2 separate regions of the Homo sapiens genome follow, and region 1 is linked to region 2. The links are contacts of gene promoters, found by promoter capture Hi-C in human tissues and cell types (Jung and others, 2019). All regions are on one chromosome and are shown on one strand. Each heading gives the region's core, a stretch centred on a gene start or on the middle of the fragment in contact. The rest is flanking DNA. Distances are from core to core; before and after follow the strand shown.

Region 1 (6,172 bases), core at 781-3,280, 59 kb before region 2:
CTTCAAAAGCACTGATTTAAGTAAATGACTAAAGAAATATGTGTATTTATATATTAATTAATTCAAATAAATGGTTAATCTGAGCCTACTCTATGCCAATGTCAATACAGGGGCTGGAGATACCATGGTGGACCAGAAGTCACTCCCTCTCTCATGGAGTTTATATTCTAATAACTATATTAAATCAAGAAACATTGGCTGGGCACGATGGCTCACACCTGTAATCCCAGCACTTTGGCAGGCTGAGGTGAGCGGATCACCTGAGGTCAGGAGTTCGAGACCAGCCTGGCCAACATGGTGAAACCCCATCTCTACTAAAAATACAAAATTAGCCGGGCATGATGGCACGTGCCTATAGTCCCAGCTACTTGGAAGGCTGAGGCAGGAGAATCGCTGGAACCCAGGAGGCAGCGGTTGCAGTAAGCTGAGATCATGCTACTGCACTCCAGCCTGGGTGACAGAGCGAGACTCCGTCTCAAAAAAAAAGGAACATTTATGGGAGTGCTCCTTCTATAGATTCCCTCCTCAGGAAAGTCTTCCTAGACCTCCTGTGGTCTAAAGTAGCCGTCAACATTGTTAATCACTATCACACCAACTTGTCTTCTTGTCTTCAAGCCTGTTATTCCTACCCAAAATTATGTTGTTCTATATCTGTTTACCTGTTTAGTATCTATCTTTTCCACATTGGTATATAAGCTTCATGAGAACAGGAATCTAGAATAGTGCTTAACATAGCACGTACTAAATGTTCAGTAACTGGCCAGGCAGGTGGCTCACACCTATACTCTCAGTGCTTTGGGAGGCTGAGGCAGGAGGATCGCTTGAGCCCAGACATTTGAAACCAGCCTGGGCAACAGAGTGAGACCCTATCTCTACAAAAAAAAATTTTCTTTTAATTGGCTGGGTGTGGGGACACATGCCTGTGGTCTCAGCTACTTGGGAGTCTGAGGTAGGAGGATCGCTTGAGGCCAGGAGTTGAAGGCTGTAGTGAGCTATGATCATGTCGCTGCACTCCAGGCTGAGCAACAGAGTGAGACTCTGTTACTAAAAAATAAATAGATAAATAAATATTCAATATATGTTTGTGTGTGTGTGTGTGTGTGTGTGTGTGTGTGTGTGTGTTTTCTTGTTTTTTTTGTGGGGGGGGTATGAAATCTTCCTCTGTCACCGAGGCTGGAGTGCAGTGGTGCAGTCTCGGCTCACTGCAACCTCTGCCTCCCAGGTTCAAGCAATTCTCATGCCTCAGCCTCCCAAGTAGCTGGGATTGCAGGCATGCGCCACCACACCTGGCTATTTTTTTTTTTGAAACCAACTCTCGCTCTATTGGCAGGCTGGAGTGCAGTACTGCGATCTAGGCTCACTGCAACTTCCGCCTCCCGGATTCAAGCAATTCTCCTGCCTCAGCCTCCCGAGTAGCTGGGACTACAGGTGCGTGCCACCACACCTGGCTAATTTTTGTATTTTTAGTAGAGATGGGGTTTCACCATGTTGGCCAGGATGGTCTCAATCTCTTGACCTTGTAATCTGCCCGCCTCGGCCTCCCAAAGTGCTGGGATTACAGGGGTGAGCCACCACGCCCAGCCTTTTTTTTTTTTTTTTTTTTTTTGAGACAGAGACTTGCTCTGTCACCCAGGCTGGAGTGCAGTGGCGTGATGTCGGCTCACTGCAACCGCCACCTCCCGGATTCAAGTGATTCTCCTGCCTCAGCCTCCCAAGTAGCTGGAATTACAGGCACCCACCACTATGCCCAGCTACTTTTTGTATTTTCAGTAGAGATGGGATTTCACCATGTTGCCCAGGCTGGTCTCCGACTGCTGACCTCAGGTGATGTATTCGTCTCGGCTTCCCCAAGTGCTGGGATTACAGGCGTGAGCCACACACCCAGCCTGTGTATTTTTTTTTTTGTTTTTTTGTTTTTTTTGAGACTGGGTCTCGCTCTGTTGCCCAGGCTGGAGTGCAGTGGCGCGATCTTGGCTCACTGCAAGCTCTGCCTCCCGGGTTCACGCCATTCTCCTGCCTCAGCCTCCCGAGTAGCTGGGACCACAGGTGCCCACTACCACGCCCGGCTAATTTTTTGTATTTTTTAGTAAAGATGGGGTTTCACTGTGCTAGCCAGGATGGTCTTGATCTCCTGACCTCGTGATCCGCCCACCTTGGCCTCCCAAAGTGCTGGGATTACAGGCATGAGCCACTGCATGTATTTTTTTTTAAGCAACAAAGTCTCACTGTGTTGCCCAGGCTGGAGTGCAGTGGCCTGATCATAGCTCACTGCAGCCTCAAACTCCTGACCTCAAGCGATCCACTTTGGCTTCTTAAAGTGTTGGGATTACAGGCATAAACCACTGCACCTGGCCTAAATATTTGTTAAATAAACAAATGAATACTAGGCACAGATGAGCAAAACCCACACAAGCTCTGACCTCCTGAAGCTTATTGTCTATTGGGGGAGCTTATTACCTATATTACTTTGGGCAAGCTAGTTCACATCTCTGACCCTCAAATTTCTCATCTGAACTATACTAATAAACCTTATTAACAATTAAAAGGGTTATTGTGAGAATAAATGAATACATATAAATACACATAAATTGTTTGGATTAATTTTTTTTTTGAGATGTCTCACTTTGTCGCCCAGGCTGGAATGCAGTGGTGCGATCTCAGCTCACTGCAACCTCTGCCTCTCAGGTTCAAGCGATTCTCCTGCCTCAGCCTCCCTAGTAGCTGGGACTACAGGCATACATCGCCACACTGGGCTAATTTTTTGTATTTTAGTAGAGACAGGTTTTCACAATGTTGCCCAGCCTGGTTGCGAACTCCTGAGCTCAGGCAATCCGCCCCCACCTCAGTCTCCCAAAGTGTTGGGATTACAGGTGTAAGCCACCATGTGCCCAGCCTTGGATGAATGTTAATAGCTATTACTATCAAGCTACATTTGTACTAAGAAAGGAGGCGGAGGCCGGGCGCGGTGGCTCACGCCTGTAATCCCAGCACTTTGGGAGGCTGAGGCAGGCAGATCACCTGAGGTCAGGAGTTCGATACCAGACTGACGGACATGGAGAAACCCCATCTCTACTAAAAAAACAAAATTAGCCAGGCGTGGTGGTGCATGCCTGTAATCCTAGCTACTCCAGAGGCTGAGGCTGGAGAATCACTTGAACCGGGGAGGTGGAGGTTGCGGTGAGCCGAGATTGCGCCATTGCACTCCAGCCTGGGCAACAGGAGTGAAACTCTGTCTCAAAAAAAAAAAAAAAAAGTAAAATAAAAAGAAAGGAGGGGAGTCCCTAAATGAAGTCAGGGAGAACAGCATCTATAAAGGCCCTAAGTGCCAGGCGTGGTGGCTGCCGCCTGTAATTGCCTGTAATTCCAGCACTTTGGGAGGCCAAGGAGAGCAGATCACCTGAGGTCAGGAGTTTGAGACCAGCCTGACCAACATGGTAAAACCCCGTCTCTACTAAAAATAGAAAATTAGCCGGATGTGGTGGCAGGTGCCTATAATCCCAGCTACTTGGGAGGCTGAGGGAGGAGAATCATGTGAATCCGGGAGGCAGAGGTTGCAGTGAGCCAAGGTTGTGCCACTGCACTCCAGCCTGGGCGACTGAGAGAGACTCTGTCTGAAAAAAAAAAAAAAGCCCTAAGGGAGACAAACTGTGGAGTTGTGGGAAATGAAAGAGATGGCCTTAAAACACTTAGGATTTTATCCTCAGATCAAAGAGTAAAGCTGCAGGATTTTAAGAGCAAAGTGCCTTCGCTCAAATTACTTTTTTCTTTCTTTTTTTTTTTTTTGTTTTGAGAGGGAGTCTCACTCTGTCGCCCGGGCTGGAATGCAGTAGTGGGATCTCCACTCACTGCAAACTCCGCCTCCCGGGTTCACGCCATTCTGCTGCCTCAGCCTCCCGAGTAGCTGGGACAACAGGTGCCTGCCACCACGCCCGGCTAATTTTCTGTATTTTTTAGTAGAAATGGGGTTTCACTGTGTTAACCAGGATGGTCTTGATCTCCTGACCTCGTGATCCGCCCGCCTGGGCCTCCCAAAGTGCTGGGATTACAGGCGTGAGCCACTGCGCCCAGCCCAAATTACTTTTTTCTTTTTGAGACAGGGTCTCTCTCTGTTGCCCAGGCTGGAGTGCAGTGGCACAGTCATGGCTCACTGTAGCCTCAACCTCCTAGGCTCAAGCGATCCTCCTGCCTCAGCCTCCTGAGTAGCTGAGACCACAGGTACACACCACCACACCCTGCTAATTTATTTTTTGTAGAGATGTGGTCGCACTATGTTGCTCATGCTGGTCTCGAACTCCTGGGCTCAATCGATCCTCCCCTCCACGGCCTCCCAAAGTGTTGGGATTACAGGCCTGAGTCACTACACCTGGCCCCCTCAAGTTACATTTTTAAAAAACCTAGGCCGGGCACGGTGGCTCACACCTGTAATCCTAGCACTTTGGGAGGCCAAAGCGGATGGATCACAAGGTCAAGAGATCGAGACCATCCTGGCCAACATGGTGAAACTCCGTCTTTACTAAAAATACAAAATAGCTGGGCGTGGTGGCATGTGCCTGTAGTCTCAGCTATTCGGGAGGCTGAGGCAGGAGAATCACTTGAACCCAGAAGGAGGAGGTTGCAGTGAGCTGACACAATGCCACTGCACTCCAGCCTGGCAACAAAGTGAGACTCTGTCTCAAAAAAAAAAAAAAAAACCTGTCTGACTGCAAATGGAAAAGGATTAGAGGATAGGTACAAGGAGACCTATGAGGCGATGGCTGCTAAGGTGGTGGCCATGGAGGTGGAGGATGTGTGTCAATTAGGGACATACTTAGTATAATTTCTGATTAATTGGATGTAGGAGGTGAGAGAGTGAGGAGTCAAGGACGGCTCCCAAGTTTCTGGGAAACCAAAACAATTTCGATTCCTTGCATCTAAACACAAGGTTATCACTGAATTAGTCTTAGAGGGGAAAGATATGCAAAGCTACCAGAGGAGTCACCCAGACTCCAGGTCTGCAAAATCTAAACAGGCCTTCATGGGACAAAAAGTAGGGTTGGAAGAGGCTGGACAAGTAACCAGGCTAGTGATCTGAAAGGAGGCTTGTGCACATCAGTACAAATCTGCCCTTGCTGGGGTGGGAAGTGGTATGATTTTTTTTTTTCCACTGGGACTGAACCTATTCTTGGTGGGTCTATACTTGAGAGATGGTCTTGACATGTCAAGAGAAAGAATATGTTCAGGGTTGGGAAGAGGAAGAAGGAAGAACTTCAAGGTGGGGAGATGGATATAGAGGCTGCTCTCTGCAGCTATTTTTTTTTTTTTTTTTGAAACGGAGTTTCGCTCTTATTGCCCAGGCGGAGTGCAATGGCACGAACTCGGCTTACCATAGCCTCCGCCTCCTGGGTTCAAGCAATTCTCCTGCCTCAGCCTCCTGAAAGCTGAGGATTTTACACGTAGCAGAAATGTAAGAGCTTTGCCTTCTGGCATCATTTGTTTGTTCACTCAGCAAACTTATGTGGCATTCCTAAGAGCCAGGTTCTCTCTGCTCTGGGTGCTGGGGACAGAACTGTGAGCTAAACGTTCACCGAACAACCTCTTCTTGGAGAGAGTGAGAGAGACAAGCAGTGTGTGTGTGTAAGTTGTTGGAAAAAGCTTTGAATCTGAAGGTAAGAGCAAGGAAACCCCAGCCCCATCCACCCAGCAGGAGGCCAATTCTCCTCACAAAACCTCGATTTCCTGTAAGCAGCAATGGTTCTGCCACTCAGGGAGGAAGACTCTCCTTGTCCAGAGACAGGGTCTCTGAAATCCTAGAGGTCTGGCCCAAGCACCAAGACAGGCTGCACAACTGTAGACAGTAGTTGTCACATCTCCAAGCCTCCCATCTGTGTGATGAGCTCAGTAAGTCCTTTTAAGAATAGAGACCAGGCTAACACGGTGAAACCCCATCTCTACTAAAAATACAAAAACTTAGTCGGGCGTGGTGGCGGGCGCCTGTAGTCCAGCTACTCGGGAGGCAGAGGCAGGAGAATGGCGTGAACCCGGAAGGCGGAGCTTGCAATGAGCCGAGATCGCGCCACTGCACTCCAGCTTGGGTGACACTGCGAGACTCTGTCTCAAAAAAAAAAAAAAAAGAAAAAAAAGTCGGTTAGGTCAAAAGGGCTCTGCCCCTATGAATGGATTAATGCTGTTATCA
Region 2 (5,726 bases), core at 28-2,527:
AGGATCACTTAAGCCCAGGAGATCAAGGTTGCCATGAGCTATGATCATGCCACTGCACTCCAGCATGGGCAACAGAGTGAGACCATGTCAAAAAGAAAGAAAGAAAGAATTAACTGAATTCCCCTCCAATTCTGTTCTAGAGAGTCAAGTCTAGATGAGCCAAGAGAGATGAAGTATATCCCTTTCTTTTCCACTGCTGTCTTTGTTTTACTGATGGGGAAACTGATGACAGACTCTGTCAGGGAAACCAATGGCCCAAGACCACATAGTGAGTTGGTGGCAGATTTGGGGCTGGGACCCAGGTCTGCAGACTCCCAGTCAGCCCTGCAGCTCTTTCAGGGTGCTGGGAATCACATGGTGTGTACCTAGGCATGTGCTGTGCTAAGCCCTTGACATACTTTGCCTCATTTGGTTTTCCCAATATTTCCATGAAGTTGGTTCTATTATTCATGCTCATTTAACAGATAAGGAAACTGAAGCTTAGACAGTTTACAGAACTGCGAGGTAGCAGAACTATACAAGCGCAGTTTGTTCGACAGGTTTGAAGCAGGTCAGACTATCTACCAGGAGCTGAAAGACACTGGCAGTATGGGGGCACGATAGGAGGAACATTGGAATTAGAGTCTAGGCCCTTGCAAGTCGCTTATTATTTTCTTCAATACTAAGTCCCTAAATCCAAACTCCAATTTGCTCAAAGGAGGACAAATTTTCTTCTTCCTGAAATAATTTGTGGACTACATGAAAACTGCATCCAAACTAGGGTAAAATTGGGAAAGGATGGGGTTACTCTGCATCGTCAGCAGATTCCAGACAGGGGCCAGAGTACCATCAGTCTATGAGAGTTTTCTAAGATCTCCAGGGAAAACCTGCCAATGGCCTCCCCTAGGCCACTTCAACAGATAGATGATAACCCACTAGCCACCTGATCCCCCGAGCTGAACTCTCCCTCCCTGCCAGCATCCCCAGCCCTGCACGACCGAGAGCGCGCAGGATCCAGGCACTCGTGCGTGTAACGGCACGGCCCGCACACGCCCCCTACGCCGACACCTGTGGCCCCCGCGCTCACCTGCCTCTGCCCAGGCGGTGCTGGAGGGCTGGCCCGCCTGCTCGGCGAGCCCGTCGGGCCGACCCCCACCCCGCTCGCCCTCCGCCTGCTCGGTCCCCGCATCCCGGCCCTTACCTCAGCTGGCCCTCTTGGCCCACGTCGATGGGTCCGTCGGACTCCCCGTCGGAGCCGCTCGGCTCCTTGGGTCGCTTCATGGCGAACGCAGGCTGCCTGGTCTCAGCCCCGCGGCTAAGGCTCCCAGTCGGGAAGTCAGGCCCCGCCCCGGCCCCGCCCCGGCCCCGCCTCGGGGGCGCCGCCACCGCCCTTTCCCAGGGCCCTTTCCTGCGCCGCAGCTCCGGGCGCCCAGGCGCCCCCTCGCCCCCGCGGTGACGCGCCGCCGAGCCGTGGGAAGGCCCTAGGCGGTCGCCGCCTTCATCGACGGCTGGGAGGTCCGGCTCTGCTCCGCTGTCTCGGCTGCCGCGCGCTGGGTGGCCTTGGGCAGGTGCCCTGGGAGGCCCCGCGGGGAAGCCAGGAGTCCCCGTCTGTCCCTGGGTCGCCTGGGCGCTGCTGGCCTGTAGAGGCGCCGCTTCGATGCCCGGGATTCCGCAAGGGTCAACCCTGCGCGCTCCTGCCTCCTGGTGTTCTGGAGGCAGCAGACACATCAAGTTTGTCGAAGTTAGTCGTGGTGGTTGTGGCCTGATCCTCAGCAAGAATTCCCCAGCAGCAACTCCATAGGGGCCCAAAGCAAGTGGAATAGTGTGGTGGGGGCAAGGGGAAGACACTTACACTTCTGAGAGGTGGCAGTCACCCCCAAAAGGGACGGCTGAAGTTGTGGCCACCGCATCTGAGAAAGCTGGGCTCTGGCCGAGGTCCCTAAAGGCCTGGCGTGGTGGCAGTGGTGGGTTGTCCCTGGGAATCAGTTCCCAGTTCACCAGAGGTCGAGTTGTCCTGGGCGGCCAGGAGGCCAGGAAAGGGCTCCTTCTAGACGCTATGGCAGGGCCTCAAAGTGGGAGAAGGAGAGGAAAAGGGAAGATACCTTCCAGCCTCTCTTCCTGGGGCCTCTGCTTCTGGCAACCCATCAAACTGTTCACTCAGGGAGGGCTCTAGCTGCCCTGTCCTTAGGGGGACTTGTGGGAAGTTCTCAGATTCACCGGTCATCCTCAGGCGCCCAGTACCTCAGAGAAGCTCCTAAGGCTCCAAAGGAAGCTGCATGAGAGCATCCTGGAGCTGGACTTCTTGGGCAGGGAAGAGGAGATAGAGGAGGTCTTGGTGTGCTGGGTTAGATATGAGAGGTCTTTTCCTTTTTACCCGCCACCAGGTCAGGACCTGAGGGAAGCCACCCCTTCAAGTGGGAGAATCGGGTTGGTCATCTGAGAATAACTGTGCTTCCATCCCCACAGCAAGGCCTGCTTGCTGGGGGACACTTGATTACTTGATGGGAAAGAATGTTCCTGTGCCCCCGTCCACACACATCCACAGACACAACCATTTGGCCAGGTATGCAAACACATACACACGGACAGACTTACAAATATATACTGGTAGGCGCAACTGTCGTGAGCAATCAGTACCAGGAAGCCCTGGTGGTCGCCCCAGCCACAACTATGGACTCTCATTCCAAATGCCCTCAGCACTCACATCACTTCTGTGGGCACATGCCAGTCAGTGGAAACCTCAACTAACAGAGAAGTTGCACAATGTGTTATGCATTCCCTGGAAAGGCGGAAGTCAAGGAAGCCTCCCAGATAGCTGCCCTGTGTAATTGGCTGAGATAGCAAAGATTGGAAGAGGAGCAGATTTGCAGGGGAAGGTCAAGGGCCCCGTGATGGACGTTTCATGTGAGATGTCTTGGATCATCAAAATACAGTGCACAGTTAAATAGAGGGTATGGAGTTCAGAACAGAGGTCTCAGCTGGATATTAAATTTGGACGTCATTAGGTAATTGATGGCATTTAAAGCTATGGGAGCAGATGGGATCATTCAGAAAACGTGGATGGAGACAGAGCAGGGGCCTAGCTAAATACTTAACATTTGGTGAGCCCTTATTATAAAACCTGAAACTATTCTAAGTCTTTTGTAAATATTAACTCATTTAATCCTTGACAACCCTATAAAGTAGTAATATTATAATCCCCACTTTACAAGTGAGAAACAAAGGCTGAGAGGTAGACTAACTCCACCTAAGGCCAACAGGCAATAAATGGAAGGGCTGGAATTCAACAAGGCAGTTCAGTTCCAGAGCCAAAACATTAGGCTTTATTACTTTATACAGTACTCCCCCTTCTTTTAAAAATAAAGACAAGGATTCACTCTGTCACCAGGCTAGAGTGTAGTGGTGCCATCGTAGCTCACTGAAACCTTGAACTCCTTGGCTCAAGTGATCCTCCCACCTCAGCCTCCTGAATAGCTCAGACTACAGGGGCATACCACCATGCTCAGCTAATTAAAAAAACAACATTTTGCCAGGTGTGGTGGCTCACGCCTGTAATCTCAGCACTTTGGGAGGCTGAGGCAGGCGGATCACAAGGTCAGGAGATCGAGACCATCCTGCCTAACACGGTGAAACCCCATCTCTACTAAAAAATACAAAAAATTAGCCAGGCGTGGTGGCAGGCACCTGTAGTCCCACCTACTCGGGAGGCTGAGTCAGGAGAATGGCGTGAACCCGGGAGGCGGAGCTTGCAGTGAGCCAAGATGGCGCCACTGCACTCCAGCCTGGGCGACAGAGTAAGACTCCGTCTCAAAAAAAAAAAAAAAAAAAAAAAAATTTTTTTTGGTAGAGATGAGATCTCACTATGTTGCCCGGGCTGGTCTTCAACTCCTGGGGCCAAGCAATCTTCCCACCTTGGCCTCCCAAAGTGTTAAGATTACAGGAGTAAGCCACTACACCCCGTCAATTATACAGCTCTTAAACATTGTGATATATTATCCAGTACTGAGCCTAGAGCTATGCCATCAATATAATAGCCACGAACCCCCTATGGCTATTAAGTACTTGAAATGTGGCTGGTCTGAATTGCTGTATGTGCAGTGAGTATGAAATACACACCAGAATTTTTTTAAGTGTGAACTATCTCATTGATATTTTTTGTTATGATTACATGTTGCAATGATAATATTGTATAAATATTGGATGAAATAAAATACATTAGTAAAGTTAACTTCCCTTGTTTTATTTTTAGGTTTTTAAAAATGTGACTACTAGAAAATGTTAAACTGCATATTTGGCTCCCATGATATTCCTATTGGATGGTGCTAATCTGGTGCAGGGTTTCTTAACCTCAGGACTACTGGCATTTTGGGTCAGGTCATTCTTTATTGTGTAGGGCTGTTCTGTGGATTGTAGAATGGTAAGCAGCCTCCCTGGCCTCTATCCACTGGATGCCAGTTATACCCGCTCCAGTTGTGACCATCAGAAATATCTCCAGATAAAATACCAAATGTCCCTTGGGGGAGAAATCGCCCCCAGTTGGGAACCGCTAGTCTGGAGAAACTCCAAGATTTAAAGGTTGTAGAAGAGAAAGAGCTGCCAGAGAAGACTGAAAGGGCAGTGGAGGAGAGTGGGGTGTGTGTGGGGGGGTGTGGGCAGGAGCCAAAAGAGTGTTTCAAGGACTTGGTCATGATCCTTTTAAAATGCCAGTCAGATCATGTCACTTCCTGCTCAAAACCATCCACACGCTTCACATCCCATTTGAAATAAAATGCCAACTGCTTACCATGCCCTATACACAGAACAACTGTAATAACCTGGGCACCTTTGAGAGTGAAAGGAGGCAATACTAATAATCATGCCAGGGCAGTTCAGGGCACACTGGAGGTACCATCTCCTAAGCTCAGGCCCCTGCCCATCTCTCCAGCTTCATCCCCAACCACTTTCTGCCTTGTCCACTCACCCACGACAGCCTTCTTGCCATTTGTATTGGGCCATTCTCACATTGCAGGGGCCAGAGCTTAGGATGACAAACATATAGCAACACATATAATGTAATGTCAGTGATATTAATAGATGCTGTGAAATAAGATAAAGTGAGGTGGAGACATAGGGTGACTGGGGGATTGGTGGCTATTTTACTTAGGGGTCAGGAGATCGTCTCTGAGGATGAATCACTTATGCAGAGACCCGAATGGAGAGAGGGAATCTAAGAAGATCTGGGGAAGAGGATTCCAGGCAGAAGGAACAGCAAGTGGAAAGCCCTGAGGTAGGAACAAGCATGGAATATCAATAGAATGGTGATATGGTTTGGATCTGTGTCCCCATCCAAATCTCATGTTGAATTGTAATCCCCAATGTTGGTGGTGGAGCCTGGTGGGAGGTGAGGGAGGTGGATTTTTCATGAATGGTTTAGTCCCATCCCCTTGGTACTGTTCTCATGATAGTGAGTTTTCATGGATCTGGTGGTTTAAAGGTGTGTGGCACCTCCCCTGCTTCCTCTCTTGTTCCTGTTTTTGCCATGTGACGTGCCTGTTCCCCTTTTGCCTTCCACCATGACTGGAAGCTCCCTGAGGCCTCCCCAGAAGCAGATGCTACTGTGCTTCCTGTACAGCCTGCAGAACCGTGAGCCAATTAAACCTCTTTTCTTCATAAGTTACCCTGAAATACAGGGAGGTTAAATAACTTACCCAAGATCACACAGCTACTAAGTGGTAGAAATAGGATTTTAACCAAGCAGTCTGGCGCCA

What was found. Contacts are between HindIII fragments. The study calls those that stand out against the background at their distance.
Region 1: a fragment that was not itself captured here is called in contact with the fragment with the promoter of HEYL in region 2 in 4 of the 25 tissues and cell types used here (IMR-90 fibroblasts, aorta, ovary and 1 more).

The regions. Positions count from the first base shown.
Region 1 is chr1:39,578,275-39,584,446 of GRCh38, forward strand. No RefSeq gene overlaps it. Among named protein-coding and RNA genes, the nearest start is that of PABPC4, 4.6 kb to the left of the region's middle. The HindIII fragment of the contact is 4,000 bases long and covers 31-4,030 here.
Region 2 is chr1:39,638,366-39,644,091 of GRCh38, forward strand. HEYL (hes related family bHLH transcription factor with YRPW motif like) reads right to left here and starts at 1,278. Exons shown (of 5, transcript NM_014571.4): 1 at 1,181-1,278. The coding sequence starts at 1,260. RefSeq lists silencers at 1,055-1,124, 1,245-1,634. The HindIII fragment of the contact is 11,489 bases long and covers 1-5,726 here.